Linked DNA regions of Homo sapiens: all the other regions are linked to region 2. Evidence: promoter capture Hi-C in human tissues and cell types (Jung and others, 2019). All regions are on one chromosome and are shown on one strand. The core of a region is centred on a gene start or on the middle of the fragment in contact, and the rest is flanking DNA. Distances in the headings are between cores, read along the strand shown.

The links. Contacts are between HindIII fragments. The study calls those that stand out against the background at their distance.
Region 1: a fragment that was not itself captured here is called in contact with the fragment with the promoter of CPSF4L in region 2 in 1 of the 25 tissues and cell types used here (thymus).
Region 3: a contact is called between a fragment that was not itself captured here and the fragment with the promoter of CPSF4L in region 2, in 2 of the 25 tissues and cell types used here (H1 embryonic stem cells and mesendoderm cells).
Region 4: a fragment that was not itself captured here is called in contact with the fragment with the promoter of CPSF4L in region 2 in 3 of the 25 tissues and cell types used here (dorsolateral prefrontal cortex, liver and pancreas).
Region 5: a contact is called between a fragment that was not itself captured here and the fragment with the promoter of CPSF4L in region 2, in 4 of the 25 tissues and cell types used here (dorsolateral prefrontal cortex, liver, lymphoblastoid cells and 1 more).

What each region holds. Positions count from the first base shown.
Region 1 is chr17:73,658,887-73,661,586 of GRCh38, forward strand. No RefSeq gene overlaps it. Among named protein-coding and RNA genes, the nearest start is that of SDK2, 16 kb to the left of the region's middle. The HindIII fragment of the contact is 4,792 bases long and covers 1-2,700 here.
Region 2 is chr17:73,260,628-73,263,476 of GRCh38, forward strand. CPSF4L (cleavage and polyadenylation specific factor 4 like) reads right to left here and starts at 1,253. Exons shown (of 6, transcript NM_001129885.1): 1 at 1,089-1,253; 2 at 306-356. The coding sequence starts at 1,191. The HindIII fragment of the contact is 16,084 bases long and covers 1-2,849 here.
Region 3 is chr17:73,615,876-73,618,616 of GRCh38, forward strand. The region is part of intron 1 of SDK2 (sidekick cell adhesion molecule 2); the gene reads right to left. Among named protein-coding and RNA genes, the nearest start is that of SDK2, 27 kb to the right of the region's middle. The HindIII fragment of the contact is 3,199 bases long and covers 1-2,741 here.
Region 4 is chr17:72,972,283-72,974,982 of GRCh38, forward strand. All of the region lies in intron 4 of SLC39A11 (solute carrier family 39 member 11), which reads right to left. Among named protein-coding and RNA genes, the nearest start is that of SLC39A11, 120 kb to the right of the region's middle. The HindIII fragment of the contact is 5,164 bases long and covers 1-2,700 here.
Region 5 is chr17:72,751,298-72,753,997 of GRCh38, forward strand. All of the region lies in intron 6 of SLC39A11 (solute carrier family 39 member 11), which reads right to left. Among named protein-coding and RNA genes, the nearest start is that of LINC00511, 110 kb to the left of the region's middle. The HindIII fragment of the contact is 4,804 bases long and covers 1-2,700 here.

The sequences.
Region 1 (2,700 bases), core at 144-2,643, 400 kb after region 2:
CTCTGTCCATGTCTCTCTGACCCATTAGACTGGCCAAAGCAAATGAGAGAGAACCGGCCAGGTGGCGAGGCAATGGGACCTTTCATATGCTGCTGATGGTGGGAGTGACAATTGACATAATCGTTTTAGAGAGCAATTTGGCAATATCTAGTTAAGGCGAAAATGCTCAACCCGGTGATCTAGGAATTATACCTCTGTCATAAATCCTTATCACCAAAGGTAAATTACGTATTTATTTTTCTGCTCAACGGAAAGCATAAAATATATAATATTCTTTTATGATTTCAAGTTTCTAATGCAGTTTTACATATATTACCTAATTTGACGTTCACAAGCATAGTAGCAGTGTCAGCCCCTTGTTATAAACATGGGAACTGAGGCCAAAGATAAGGCCACAGAACTGTAGTTTGGTGCTGGGCTCAAATCCCAGTCATTTGACTTTTTGTCCAGGGCATTTTCCATGACCGCAGGCTGCCTTGCTGTGTTTTCCTGCTGCAAAGAACATCAACAAGCTCTGGGCACTTTGGCGTAGATGCTGCTAGGACCCCAACCAGATACATGGGCCTTTGCGGGAGCTTGTGCCCATCCCCCAGGGGCTGCAAGTGTTGGTGGCTGAAAGGTCACAGCTGCCCTTCCTCAGAGAATTGCCCATGGCCACTAGAGTGGCCTCAGCTGGAGATGTCTGGAAACTTCCCTTAGCCCCGCATGGCAGGGGTTGCTTTAGCCAATGGCTGACTGATGCAGGTGTACAAGGCTGGCCTTATTGTCTCAAGCGGGGACAGCTTTGTGGTACCATTCATGCTCCAGAGCTCACTGTGGGCTGTGGGAGGACATCAGCAGAGCCCGCATCTTTGCCTCGCTGCTTTTCCTGACTTATTCTGTGTTCCTCATGTCCTCTCGTCTTCCTCCTGGGAGGATTCCTTTAAGAACTCTCCTGCACCAGAATTCTCATCTCAGGCTCCGCTTTGAGGGTGATGGTTCTTTATCTTTCTCATGTATGAGAATCACCGTCCAGGTGTGGTGGCTCACACCTGTAATCCCAGCACTTTGGGAGGCTGAGGTGGGAGAATTGCTTGAGCCCAGGAGTTTGAGACAAGCCTGGGCAACATAGGGAGAACTTGTTCCCACAAAAAATGAAACAAAGAAATTTTCCAGGCATGGTGCATGTGTCTTTAGTCCCCGCTACTTGGCGGGTTAAGGCGGGAGAATCACTTGAGACTGGGATGTAAAGGCTGCAGCGACCCATACTTGGGCAACTGCACTCCAGTCTGGACAACAGAGCAAGACCCTGTCTCAAAAAAGAAAGAAAAGAAACACCAATAGGGTTTGTTAAAGCACACATCGCTGGGCTTCCCCTCCACTGCCTGTTTCAGTGGGTCTAGGAAAGGGTCCATAATTTGCATTTCTAGCAAGTTGATGCTGATGATGCTGGTCCAGGGACCACACTTTGAGAACCACTCTTCTAAGGACCCTGACATAAGACAGTTGGTGCCAGGAGAAGCAAATGCTAAGAACGGGAGTCTGCAGTTGGATAACCCGCTGGCAATGAGAAACTCAACACTGGTGATAGAAGGAGAAATGATAGCTCCTGGCATTTGGTAGCGATACAATTTCTGTGACAGCTTACAGTTGGAAGGGGATGTACTGGCTTTTGCAATATTTCTGGCATTGGAGCATTATAGCAGAGACAGTAATTATAAGGATTATGGAATTGAGAGGCTGTTTCTGAGAGACACTAGTGCAGCAAAGAAAGAAATGGCGGGCCCAAGTTTATTAATCACCAATTCAGAGCAAAGTGTGAAAGTCAGAGGATCTCTTTGGCAGTGAGGTCCTTATCTCCTGGAGCTGTACGATGGTGCCAAAGTGATACTCATTCAGTAGAAACCATGCTTTCAGTGCCCATGCAACCATTCTGTTTTTCATGTTCAGTGCAGTATTCAATACATTACATGAGATATTACATACTTTATTATAAAATAGGCTTCGTGTTAGATGATTTTGTCTAACTGTAGGCTAATGTCAGTGTTCTGAGCACATTTGAAGTAGGCTAGGGGTGTTTGGTAGATTAGGTGCAATAAATGCATTTCCTACTTACGATATTTTCAACCTAAGATTGAAGCTTACCTAAGATTTATCAAGATGTAGCCCCATCATAAGGTGAGGAGCATCTGTATATTTAAAAGTAATTTGGGCCGGGCACAGTGGCTCATGCCTGTAATCCCAGCACTTTGGAAGGCTGAGGCGGGCAGATCATGAGGTCAGGAGATCGAGACCATCCTGGCTAACATGGTGAAACCTCATTTCTACTAAAAATACAAAAATTAGCCTGGTGTGGTGGCATGCGCCTGTAGTTGCAGCTACTTGGGAGGCTGAGGTGGGAGAATCGCTTGAACCCGGGAAGTGGAGGTTGAGCCCAGTCTCCTGCTTCAGCACGTGGAAGTCTCATACCCTCCTCGCCAGAGCAGACTATAAGCCAAGCACAGAAAGACAAGCACTGTATGATTTCATGGATATGTGGGATCTAAAAAAATTGATCTCATACTAACAGAGAGTAGACAAGTGGTTACTGCGCACTAGGGCTGGGGTTGGGTAGGGAAGAACGCAGAGAAGGGAGAGGTTGATCAAAGGGTACGATGTTTCATTTACACTAGAGACATAAGTTTTAGTGATCAATTCCACTGCATGGAAACCACAGCTAAT
Region 2 (2,849 bases), core at 3-2,502:
TTGGTGGCATGCACCTGTAGTTCCAGTTACTCGGGAGGCTGAGGAAGGAGAATCGCTTGAACCCAGGAGGCAGAGGTTGCAGTGAGTTGAGATCACGCCAGATCACTCTAGCCTGGGCAACAGAGCGAGATTCCATCTAAAAATAAATAAATAAAATAAAAATAAAATTCCGTTCCATCCCAATTTTCCCTCCCCAGGTGCAAATTCGACACCCTATCCCAGGCCAGGCAGAGCCCCTGCTGGGTGTAGCTCAGACAGACCCTACACTCACCCAGCTTGGGGCCCAGGCCTGTCTGCTAACTCACCTTTCTCACAGAGCCCTTTAGTGAAGAAGTTGCACACAGCTGAGGCCGACTCTGGAAGGAGAAGAGGGAACGGAGAAGGTAGCTTCCCCAGAGGCTGCAGCTGTTCCGGAAGCCTCCACCTCCATCGGCATGTCCCACCTAGACCTCCCCCAGGCTCTGGCCTATGGGATCCCAAATCTGGGCCCTGTAGAGGTTAACCTGCAGAGCCAGCCAGCAGACCTCAACCCTTAACCCCCCAACTCTGAAACAGAGGAGCTCGAGGGGCTCAAGCCTGGCCCAGGAGCTCGGGAGGCCAGTGTGGCTTCTCTCAATTCACCGTCTCTCTGTGCCTCTCTTTCTCAGTCTGGAAAATGGGTTGCCCCGAAGCCACAGAAGAGAGAGACAGAGAAGGGGCGGTCGCATCAGGGAGTTGAGCAGAGAGGCCTGTAGAGAAGGAAGGGGGAGGGAGGCTGGGCGTGGTGGCTCATGCCTGTAATCCCAGCACTTTGGGAGGCCAAGGCGGGCGGATCACGAGGTCAGGAGATTGAGACCATCCTGGCTAACATGGTGAAACCCGGTCTCTACTAAAAATACAAAAAATCAGCTGGGCGTGGTGGCGGGCGCCTGTAGTCCCAGCTCCTCGGGAGGCTGAGGCAGGAGAATGGCGTGAACCCAGGAGGCAGAGCTTGCAATGAGCCGAGATTGTGCCACTACACTCCAGCCTGGGCTACAGAGCGAGACTCCGTCTCAAAGAAAAAAAAACAGAGAAGGTAGGGGAGGGAAAGTGGCCCCACCCTCACTCACTGTCCATGCCCTGGAAAGGCAGGAGCCCAGTGCCCTTCTGCATCTCGACATCCTTCTCGAAGGCAAAGGTGAACCGCTCTAGCCCCGCAATGACCTCTTGCATCTTCCGTCTCCTGCTGGGGCTGCGGAAGCTGCTGGAACCCAGGCAGGTGGGCCCAATATAGCTCATCAGAGGCCCTTAAGGGGCCAGCGCCCAATGCCTCCCCCTTCACCCCAGGGTGCCAGTGGCCAGGTGACTGCAGGGGACGCTCCAGCCTGGGCTGTACAGGAGCAGGGCCCAGCTGCCTCACCCGGCCCACCCAGTGCAGGGGCAGACACCCCAGGGCCCCTCACCCCCACACTGTGTACACAAGGCTCACTCGGATAGGGAGGGATTCGCAGAGCCCCACAAACTGCTTATCTTTGCATGTTACCGAACACAAACGTGGCGTGCACACAGACATTACCAAACCTGGGCTCATACTTTGTCCATGAAGACACAGCCACAGGTTAGCAAAGAGTTGCACAAACCAACCGCAGCAAGGCTGTTATTCTGCCAGAGCTGGGGGTGGTGGGGGTTTGCAGAGGGAGGGAGCCGTCCCACCTCCCCGCTTCTTCCCATGAGGGAAGGGGTCTCCCTCTGGGGCCCCTGACACCCCTTTTCTGGCCTGAGTGACAAGCCCCGAGTGAGCTCTTCGTGGGAGACAGGGAAAAAGGAATGAAGAGGAGAGGAACTGAAACAGTTGGATGAATGGCGCTTTGTTTACCTCGCACACAATCGCCAGCTTGGCGGGAGGGCGGAACCGACCAAGGCCAGGGCGGCCTCCCAGCCAGGATTCCACAGGGCCACCCAGTGCCACCCCACCCCTGAGAAAGTGCTTTATAAATGAAATCTCTATGCAAATGTTGTTTTATTATTATTACACCACCCCTGCCTGCAGGGCTGGGGACATCTGACAATGCTTTCAAAGGAGCATGTTAGGGCTCTAATTAGACCAGGTTCCCCCTCCCCCTGCTCTGGCCCCAAACTGGCCTTGCCTCTAACTAGAGCTGCTGTTCTCAGTCACATTGGCTTTTAATGCCCATAGAACCAGAACCCATACGCCCTCCTTTCTGGGTGCCCAAACCCAGCAGGGAGAGGTGGGCAGCCCCGCAGGCTCTCAGCTGGGCCAACATGAACTAGCCTGCTGGCTGTTGTTCCCCGTGGCTGTTGCTCCTAGATCTGTTCTTTTGAACTCCAGATCAGAAAAGAAAATAGCTGGAGAGATAGACACCTGGAGCCGAGGTGGGACTGGGAGGAGCAGGGACGAGATCCAAGAGTTTCCAGAAGCTCAGGCCTCTGACTGCATCCTGGGAGAGGCAGAGGGACCCAGCTCCAGGGCTAGAGGGTGGGGCCAAGGGGGTCCCTGGGGTAGAAACCCTGGCTTCTCTTGGCCTTAGTTGTATGCGTTGATTAGTAGTCCCAAGAATGCATTCATCTGTCAACACAGGCTCATTAAAGGCTCACAGAAGCCTGGCAGCGCAGGCAGGACTGATGAGGGAATCAAAGCCCAGGGAGGCCAAGACCACATGGTTTGGGAGGCGCTATGGATGGGGTTCACATCTAGGTCTCTTGATGACTTCCTTCCCTAAACATCCCTGAGCATCTCTGCACTAGGGCCACGTCCCTATCCTCAGAGATGGCCCCATCAAGGAGGGGACATTAGCCATTCACACAATAATGCGATGGAGGCATGAGGGGCCCAGCAGGGCAGGAAGGGGTAGCAGGCAGAGCTCTCTCAA
Region 3 (2,741 bases), core at 205-2,704, 360 kb after region 2:
CACATGTGCATTCACACATACATATATGTACACACAGTCACATACATATATACACAAATACACATGCATGTGACACACATGCCTACACATGCACATGAACACACAACCCAAATACACGTACACACGCATGCATGTAGACACATATGCATATACACATGAACACACATACACACACGTACACACACATACATACTTCTTCCCTCTGCATCTGAGCTTGACAGTGTGCATGAAGTAGACATATGATCCAGTTTGTGGAATCGGTACCTCCTCTTCCCCAGAACATCAGGAAGCGACCAGAAAGGCAAGCCACTTGCATGCTACCTTGCAAACTGACCTCAGGGCACTGTGAACCTTGTGCTCGGCAGCCCCAGGCATCCCGGTGCTGCTTGCCTTCCCCACCCTCTCCCCGCCTGTCTGAGCTAGACAAATTTCCACCCCCGGCTCCCCACCTCAACAGTCTCCCCAGCCCCAGCTCAGCATCCCACACACACATGCAGGCTCAGGAAGGAGAAAAAAACAAGAGGGAAAGAGGCAAGCAACGGTGATTTCCTTTCACTTGGGCAGGCTGACCGTGGCCTCAAGGACCACTGTCGCAATGCTTAGGCCTGAGCACGCATTTGTCTTTGTTTGGTTTGTTGCTTTGGTTTGTTTCGTTCTCCTGGCTGAATTACCACGTGGCAGCAGATCCTTTTTCTGGAGTAATGGAATCTTAGTCCTGGGTGTTTGGGGCTGAGAAAATGAACGTTCCATGATGCTATAAACGAAGGAAGATAAGAAACTAACTAGTCCAGCTAGTTTTTGCAGAATGCTGTGAGAGTTACAGGATAGGAAGCCACTTTCCTCCTGGGCCCAGCCCTTAGAGAGGTGCCTGAGAGGTGAGGGAGGTGCTCTCAGAGCTGCAGGCACTGCACTGTGCGCATTCCCACCATGAGATGCCTGGGGAAGGGGTCAGATTCCAGGGCTCAGGGACACAGAAGCCCCTTCTGAAGTGGGGATAGCTGAGAATGCAGAGGGGAGACAAAGTGGGCGGAGAGACAGCTCTCCTAGGGAGAGCGGAGGTCTAGAAAAGGTGCTGGGATGAGAGGGCGGGTTTTCACAGGCCCATGCATGGCACATGGGAGGCCCACGACACATGTTTATTGAATGAATGAAGGAATGGAAGGCCATAGCTGTGAGCATGCTTGTGGGCAGGGGTGGTTGAGAGAGCTGACCTCGCACTGAGCAAAGAAGGTGAAGGGCTGTAGAGGGGAAGGGAGAGGCCTCTGGGGAGGGGAGAAGCTTCCCGCAGAGAGGAGGGGAGAGGGCTCCAGGGGAGGGGAGGGGCCTCCTGCAGAGAGGAGGGGAGAGGGCTCCCGCAGAGGGGAGGGGAGAGGCCTCCTGCAGAGGGGAGGTGAGAGGGCTCCAGGGGAGGGGAGAGGCCTCCTGCAGAGGGGAGGGGAGAGGCCTCCTGCGGAGGGGAGGGGAGAGGGCTTCAGGGGGTTCTTAGGAGGCAAAGAGTCAATGCTTCTCTTTCTAGGATGGTTTGAATGCAGTTTTGCTCTAAGGCAAGGAAATGAACCCAGAGACCCCCAGGGGCCCTTCTGGCTCCTGGCTCTGATTTTTAACTTCAGCCAAGGTGGGGAGGAGGGTGACAGGCAACAAGGCCCTTAGAGCTGTCCTCTGGCTGCAGAGATCTCTCCCTGTCCAGCATACCTAGTCGACAGGCTCCAGGGGAGCTTACGAAGGGGGCGTCCCAGCTATTTGCGTTCTCCTGAGTGATTTACCAACCCCCTGCCAATACAACTCCATCTCCTGGAGAATTAACTGGCTCTCCTGAACTCATAAATAATTAGTGAGTCTGTCCCTGATGCCACTTAACAATTTGTGTTTTCAAAGCACTTTATGCCCATTAACTAAAGAATTCCCAATTCACCTCCAGAAAAACAGGACATCATAAGAGGGAGCCTGAAAAGGCCTCTGGAAGTCATCTCATCCATCCCCCGGCCTCTGGGATATGGTAAAACTAAAACAAAACAAAATACCCAACAACCCTGTTTTGAGAACACATCGAGATCTAAACGCCTTAAAACAAAACAGAACAAAGAAAAACAAGATGTCAGGAGGGCAAGCTGCTGTCTGACGAGTTAACCACTAGACCGAACCCACCAGGCCAAGGAGCCAGGGAGGTCCCATGGAGTGTGATGGGCCAGGGAGAGAAGCCTGTTAAAGGGGAGAGAGGTGCTTAATTTAATACCAGGCAAATGCAAGAGACCTTGAACCAATAGATAGGTTTCCTTACCTGCAGGTAGGGAAATGGTAATTTGCTAACCCAAACCCATTCATTAGCCTGTAAATGACGCAGCTCTTATACCTAGGAGTGTCCCTCTTAATTAGACCCCATACCTTTGCCCAGCCTCATTTTATGTTTTGCTTCTGGCTTGGGGCAGAAATGGCCGTTCATGCCAACTGGCCTCTCCCCATGGAGAGGGAGAGCTCGCTGTGCCTGTGGATTCATTTATAGTCGTCAAAACAAGATTCTCCAGGGAGGCAGTGGTCGGCCAAGCCCAAGGGCTATGGAGCCACAAGGATTCAAGGAAGCATCACTCCTTTGCCCTTTTAGAATCATGACCTCTTAATTAATCAGCAAGGAACTATAAAAAACCTACTGTATGCCCAGGACAGTGTGAGAAATGAGAGAGGAAAAAGGAGTCTCCATTTCTGCCCCATGAACAGGAAGGGTGTTTCCCTTTGGAATCTAGAGT
Region 4 (2,700 bases), core at 141-2,640, 290 kb before region 2:
GTGGGAAGTGAGATGAAGTGTTCACAGCCCAGCCAGGTAAGGGCATTGCAATACACATCACCGCCCCACCCTTCCATTTCATAGATGTGTTCTGTGGTCTCCCGATCCAATCGTAAACCTAATATTTACTCAGTGAAAGCAGTATTTGTGTGCGTTGCCATCTAAAATCCAATAAGTATGGAGACAGAAAAGAGGCTGTCTGCTTATGAGGCATGAGGGCAAACACAGCGAGCTCTTTAAAGAGCCATTGAGCTAATCAATATCCTCTCCCATTTCCATTCAGGGGCCCTGAGCCAACGGAGACTTAATAATTATTTTCCATCATTACAACCCTCCGAGAAGCTTACAAAGAAAAGGTCACTGTTTCTAAGTTTGTTCTTCTCTATTTGCCAAACACAGATTATTTCCTGGGGTCCATGAGGATCTCTTCCCAGACTGTAGCAACCAAAGACAGCCCTCACTAGGCCTCTTGGAGCCGGCTTTAGAAACAGGATATTGCTCTGCCCGTGGAAATCACTGTGGTCATCACATTTAGTTGTCTGGCCTCCTGTCCTGACCTTCCCTGCCAAGGTCAAGTTTTGGCCAACCCTCCTGTTGGATATTCTTTTTAATTTGTCCAGGTCTCAAAAATAAACACCAACCTCTGTGGTAGGTCAGGCAGGAAGGAAAAGGATGCTGTGGGTTGCTGGACACCATGACCAGCTCCTTCAACCGAGCTCCTGGACAGCGACCACACAGGCTTCAGCTGAGCCCTTTGTGCCCACATGCACACCACGAAGCCCACCATAAATACCCCAAGCTGCCTTCTGCTTGTCCTTTCCTTAGGAAACGTGAACAAACAATAACATAGAAAAATTATGGAAACCATCTTTTCCTTGCATAAAAGTTGGCTCAAACAACTAGTTAAGATTAGGTTTGATTAGAAGAAATAGAAAACCCTACTGCAGCGACTTACACAGGAAAGGTTTATTTGTCTGGGTCAGCAGAAGGACCAGGGTCAGCCATCCAGCGGGTACAGTGGCCCCAGCACTGCCGGGGGGGCACCAGGCTACTCTGTCACCTGAGTGATGGCTGTCGCACCCCAAGGACCACCCTGCTGTTTCCAGGAGAAGGAAGGGCAAGTAGAAGATGAGAAGGGACAACCTCCCTGATGACTTTTGCTGACCTCACATGGTTTCCCTGGGCTGCAGGGGAGGCTGTAGGTCTAGGAATTATAGGTAGGCACATTGCTAGATCAAACAGAATTGGAGTTCTGTTAGAAAGACAAAAGGATAAGTGGATTTTTTTCTTTTTTGAGACAGGGTCTCACTCTGTCACCCTGGCAGGAGTGCAGTGGCACAATCACAGCTCACTGCAGCCTCGACCTCTGGGGCTCAGATGATCCTCCCACTTCAGCTTCCCAAGTAGCTGGGATCACAGGCATGTGCCACCATGCCCAGCTAATTTTTTAAAATTTTTTGTAGAGATGGAGTTTCACCATGTTGCCTAAGCTGGTCTTGAACTCCTGGGCTCAAGCGATCCACGTACCTCGGACTCCCAAAGTGCTGAGATTAAGGCATGAACCACCGCACCTGGCCAGTAAGTGATTCAGTAGGTACCATGGTCTGAAAGTTTGTGTCCTCCCAAAATTAATACAGTGGATTCCTAAGCTCCGAGGTGACAGTCCAGTCTTGTGTGCATGATGACATGAAAGTCAACAGTGGGTGACATATAAGACAGTGATTCCACAGGATCATAACAGAGTGAAAGATTCCTATTGCCTAGTGACATCTGGATGATCCTGACCCTTTGTAGGCCTAGGCTAACATTCGTGCTTATTTTATTTTTTATTTTCTTGAGATGGAGTCTCACTCTGTCACCCAGGCTGGAGTGCAGTGGCGCGATCTGGCTCACCGCAACCTCTACCTCCCAGGTTCAACTGATTCTCATGCCTCAGCCTCCTGAGTACCTGGGATTACAGGCGCCCGCCACCACACTTGGCTAATTTTTGTAATTTTAGTAGAGACAAGGTTTTGCCACGTTGGCCAGGCTGGTCTCTAAGTCTTGACCTCAGGTGATCCACCCACCTTGGCCTCCCAAAGTGCTGGGATTACAGGTGTGAGCCACCACACCCGGCCTAATGTTTGCATTTGTATCTTCATTTTGTACCAAAAAAAAAAAAAAAAAATTAAGTAAAAAGGAATTTAAATTTTTTAATAGAAAAAAGCTTACAGAACAAAGATATCAAACAAGAAAATACCTTTGTACAGCTACAGCTTTACAGTGTGTTTTAAGCTAAGTGTTATTACAAAAGAGTCAAAACGTTTTTACAAGCTGATAAGGTAAAAATGTTACAGTAAGTTAAGGCCAATGTATTATTGTAGAAAAATATTTTGATTGCTTTAGTGTAGCTTAAGTATACAGTGTTTACAAAGTCTACGGTAGTGTATAGTAATGTCCTAGGCCTTCACATTCACTCACCACTCACTCACTGACTCACTGACTCACCCAGAGCAACTTCCAGCCCTGCAAGCTCCATTCATGATGAGTGCCCTAGACAGGTGTACTACCTCTTATCTTTTATACCATGTTTTTACTGCACCTCTTCTATGTTCAGATACACAAATACTTGTCATTGTGTTACAGTTGTCCACAGCATTCAACACAGTAACATACTATACAGGTTTGTAGCCTCGGAGCAATAGGCTACACCCTACAGCC
Region 5 (2,700 bases), core at 165-2,664, 510 kb before region 2:
AATCAGGTTGCTATATGAAGGTAAGGAAAAACAATCCTAAAGCTTCAAACTCTTCCCATTTGAAGAAGACAGTTCTAAGAATCGTGGCCCCCATCCTCTCATCGTCTAGGTTTTAATTAGGTTCTTTCCTTCCTTCCTCCCTTTCTTATTACCATTTTTAATTGTGATAAAATGTGAATGAATAACATGTAATTGAGCATCTTCCTCATTTTTAAGTGTACATTCATTGGCATTAAGTGCAATCACTTTTGTACAGCCATCGCCACCACCCATCTCCAGAGCTCTTTGGTTTTTTTTTGAGACAGAGTCTTGCTCCGTCGCCCAGGCTGGAGTGCAATGGCATGATCTCAGCTCACTGCAATCTTCGCCTCCTGGATTCAAGTGATTCTTGTACCTCAGTGATCCCAGTAGCTGGGAGTACAGCCATGCATCACTATGCCCGGCTAATTTTGTAATTTTGGTAGAGACAGGGTTTTGTTATGTCAGCCAGGCTGGTCTCGAACCCCTGGCCTCGAGTGATCTGCCTGCCTTGGCTTCCCAGAGTGCTGGGATTACAGGTATGAGCCACTGCACCCGGCTCCAGAGCTCTTTTTATCTTGCATAATTGAAACTCTCCACCCACTGAACCCAGATCCCCATTCCTCCTCCTCCCTCCCACAGCCCCTGGCAACCATCCTTCTACTTCCTGCCTCTGTGCCACTGACTCCTCAGGTGTCTCGCAGAGCAGGACTCACACAGTATCTGTGATGCCCTCTTTCTTATGTCATATTATCCCCTTGTGTCCCTTCTTCATTTTGTCAGGGGGCCTCCTTAACCTCCTACGGGATGTGTGGGTGATAAACTTCTGAACCCTGACATAGAAAAGAAAAATTTTGATTTTTCTCTGTGACTTAATAGCTTGACTTGAAAGTGCTGCATCCCAAGTTACCTCTCCTTAATATCTTTTTTTCTGTTTTTTCTTTCTTAAGATGGAGTCTCGCTCTGTCACCCGGGCTGGAGAGCAGTGGCGTGATCTTGGCTTACTGCAGCCTCCGCCTCCCGGGTTCCAGCAATTCTCCTGCCTCAGCCTCCCAGGTAGCTGGGATTACAGGCACGCACCACCACGCCCAGCTAACTTTAGTATTTTTAGTAGAGATGGGGTTTCACCATGTTGGCCAGGCTGGTCTCGAACTCCTGACCTCAGGTGATCTGCCTGCCTCAGCCTCCCAAAAGTGTTAGGATTACAGGTGTGAGCCACCACGCCCGGGCCTTAGTATCTTTTTTCTTTTTATTTATTTTTAAGACAGGGTCTCACTGTATTGCCTCAGCTGGTCGCTAACTCCTGGGCTCAAGTAATCCTCCTGCCTTGGCCTCCCAAAGTGCTGGGATTACAGGCATGAGCCATGGTGCCTGGCCTGCTCAATGTCTTGAGGGTATTGTTCCATCATCTTCCAGTATCTGATGCTGCTGCTGAAAAGTCTGATGCTAATTCCATTCTCATTTCCTTGTATTTAAGAAGACTTTTCTCTCTGGAAGCTCTCAACAATTTCATCTTTGTTTCTGGAGTTTTTGTTGGTGGTGGTGTTGTTTTGATTTTTGAGATAGGTCTCACTCTGTGGCCCGGGCTGGAGTGCAATGGTGCCATCATGGCTCACTGCAGCCTTGACCTCCTGGGCCCAACCAATCTTCCCACCTCAGCCTCTTGAGTAGCTGGGACCACAGATGCATGCCACCATGCCCAGCTAATTTATTTTTAGTTTTTGTAGAGACCATGTCTTCATATGTTGGCCAGGCTGGTCTCGAACTCCTGGACTCAAGTGACCCTCCAACCTCGGTCTCCCAAAGTGCTGGGATTACAGGCATGAGCCACTGCTTGTTTTCAGAGTTTTGAGATTCATCAAGATATGTCTGAGTGGGGTATTTTCTCCATTCCCACTATTCAGCATTAGGTGGTCTTTTAAATCTACAAGGTTGTGCTTTTTTTCAGCTCAGGAAAAATTTCCCCACATGCCTGCACACATACCTTACATCTTTGACTTTGTGTTTGGGAACTGGAGAATTGTCTTCTACTTAACCTTCCAGATAACCTGCTTGGCCTTTCATTCAGAATATTCTAATGAATCTATCCATTTAACTTTCTAAAAGAATTCTGGCAATTATACGATATGATTAATTTTCAAGAACTCTTTCTTATTCTCTGATTATTCATTTTTATCACAGTCAGTTCTTGCTTTATGAGCATGATAAATATGCTCTTGAATCTCCAGCTGAACATACTGCTTTGAATTTTTATGTTCTTCTGTCTCCTGGGCTCCCTGTTTTCTCCAGAGTAGGTTGTCCTACTTACTTCAGTCCCTTTTTTTCATTCTTTGGGTTTTTCTCAGGTGTCTGGGGATCTGTTACCTTCAGAGCACATTCAGGGAGGCGGGTTGACATTGACGATAGTTGGAAAGGGCATTCTCCAGGGTTGTACAAGTCTGTTTCCCTAACAGGCCTCCCTGACAACTCTGAAATTTCACTTCAAAGTATTTCCTTAAAGAACTATAAGTAGAACTACCACTGGATCCAGCAATCCCACTACTGGATATCTACCCATAGGAAAAGTCATTATACAAAAAAAAAAAAAAAAAAAAAAACCTGCACACACGTTCATAGCAGCACAATTCACAACTGCAAAAATGTGGAAACAGCCCAAATGCCCATCAATCAACAAGTGGATAA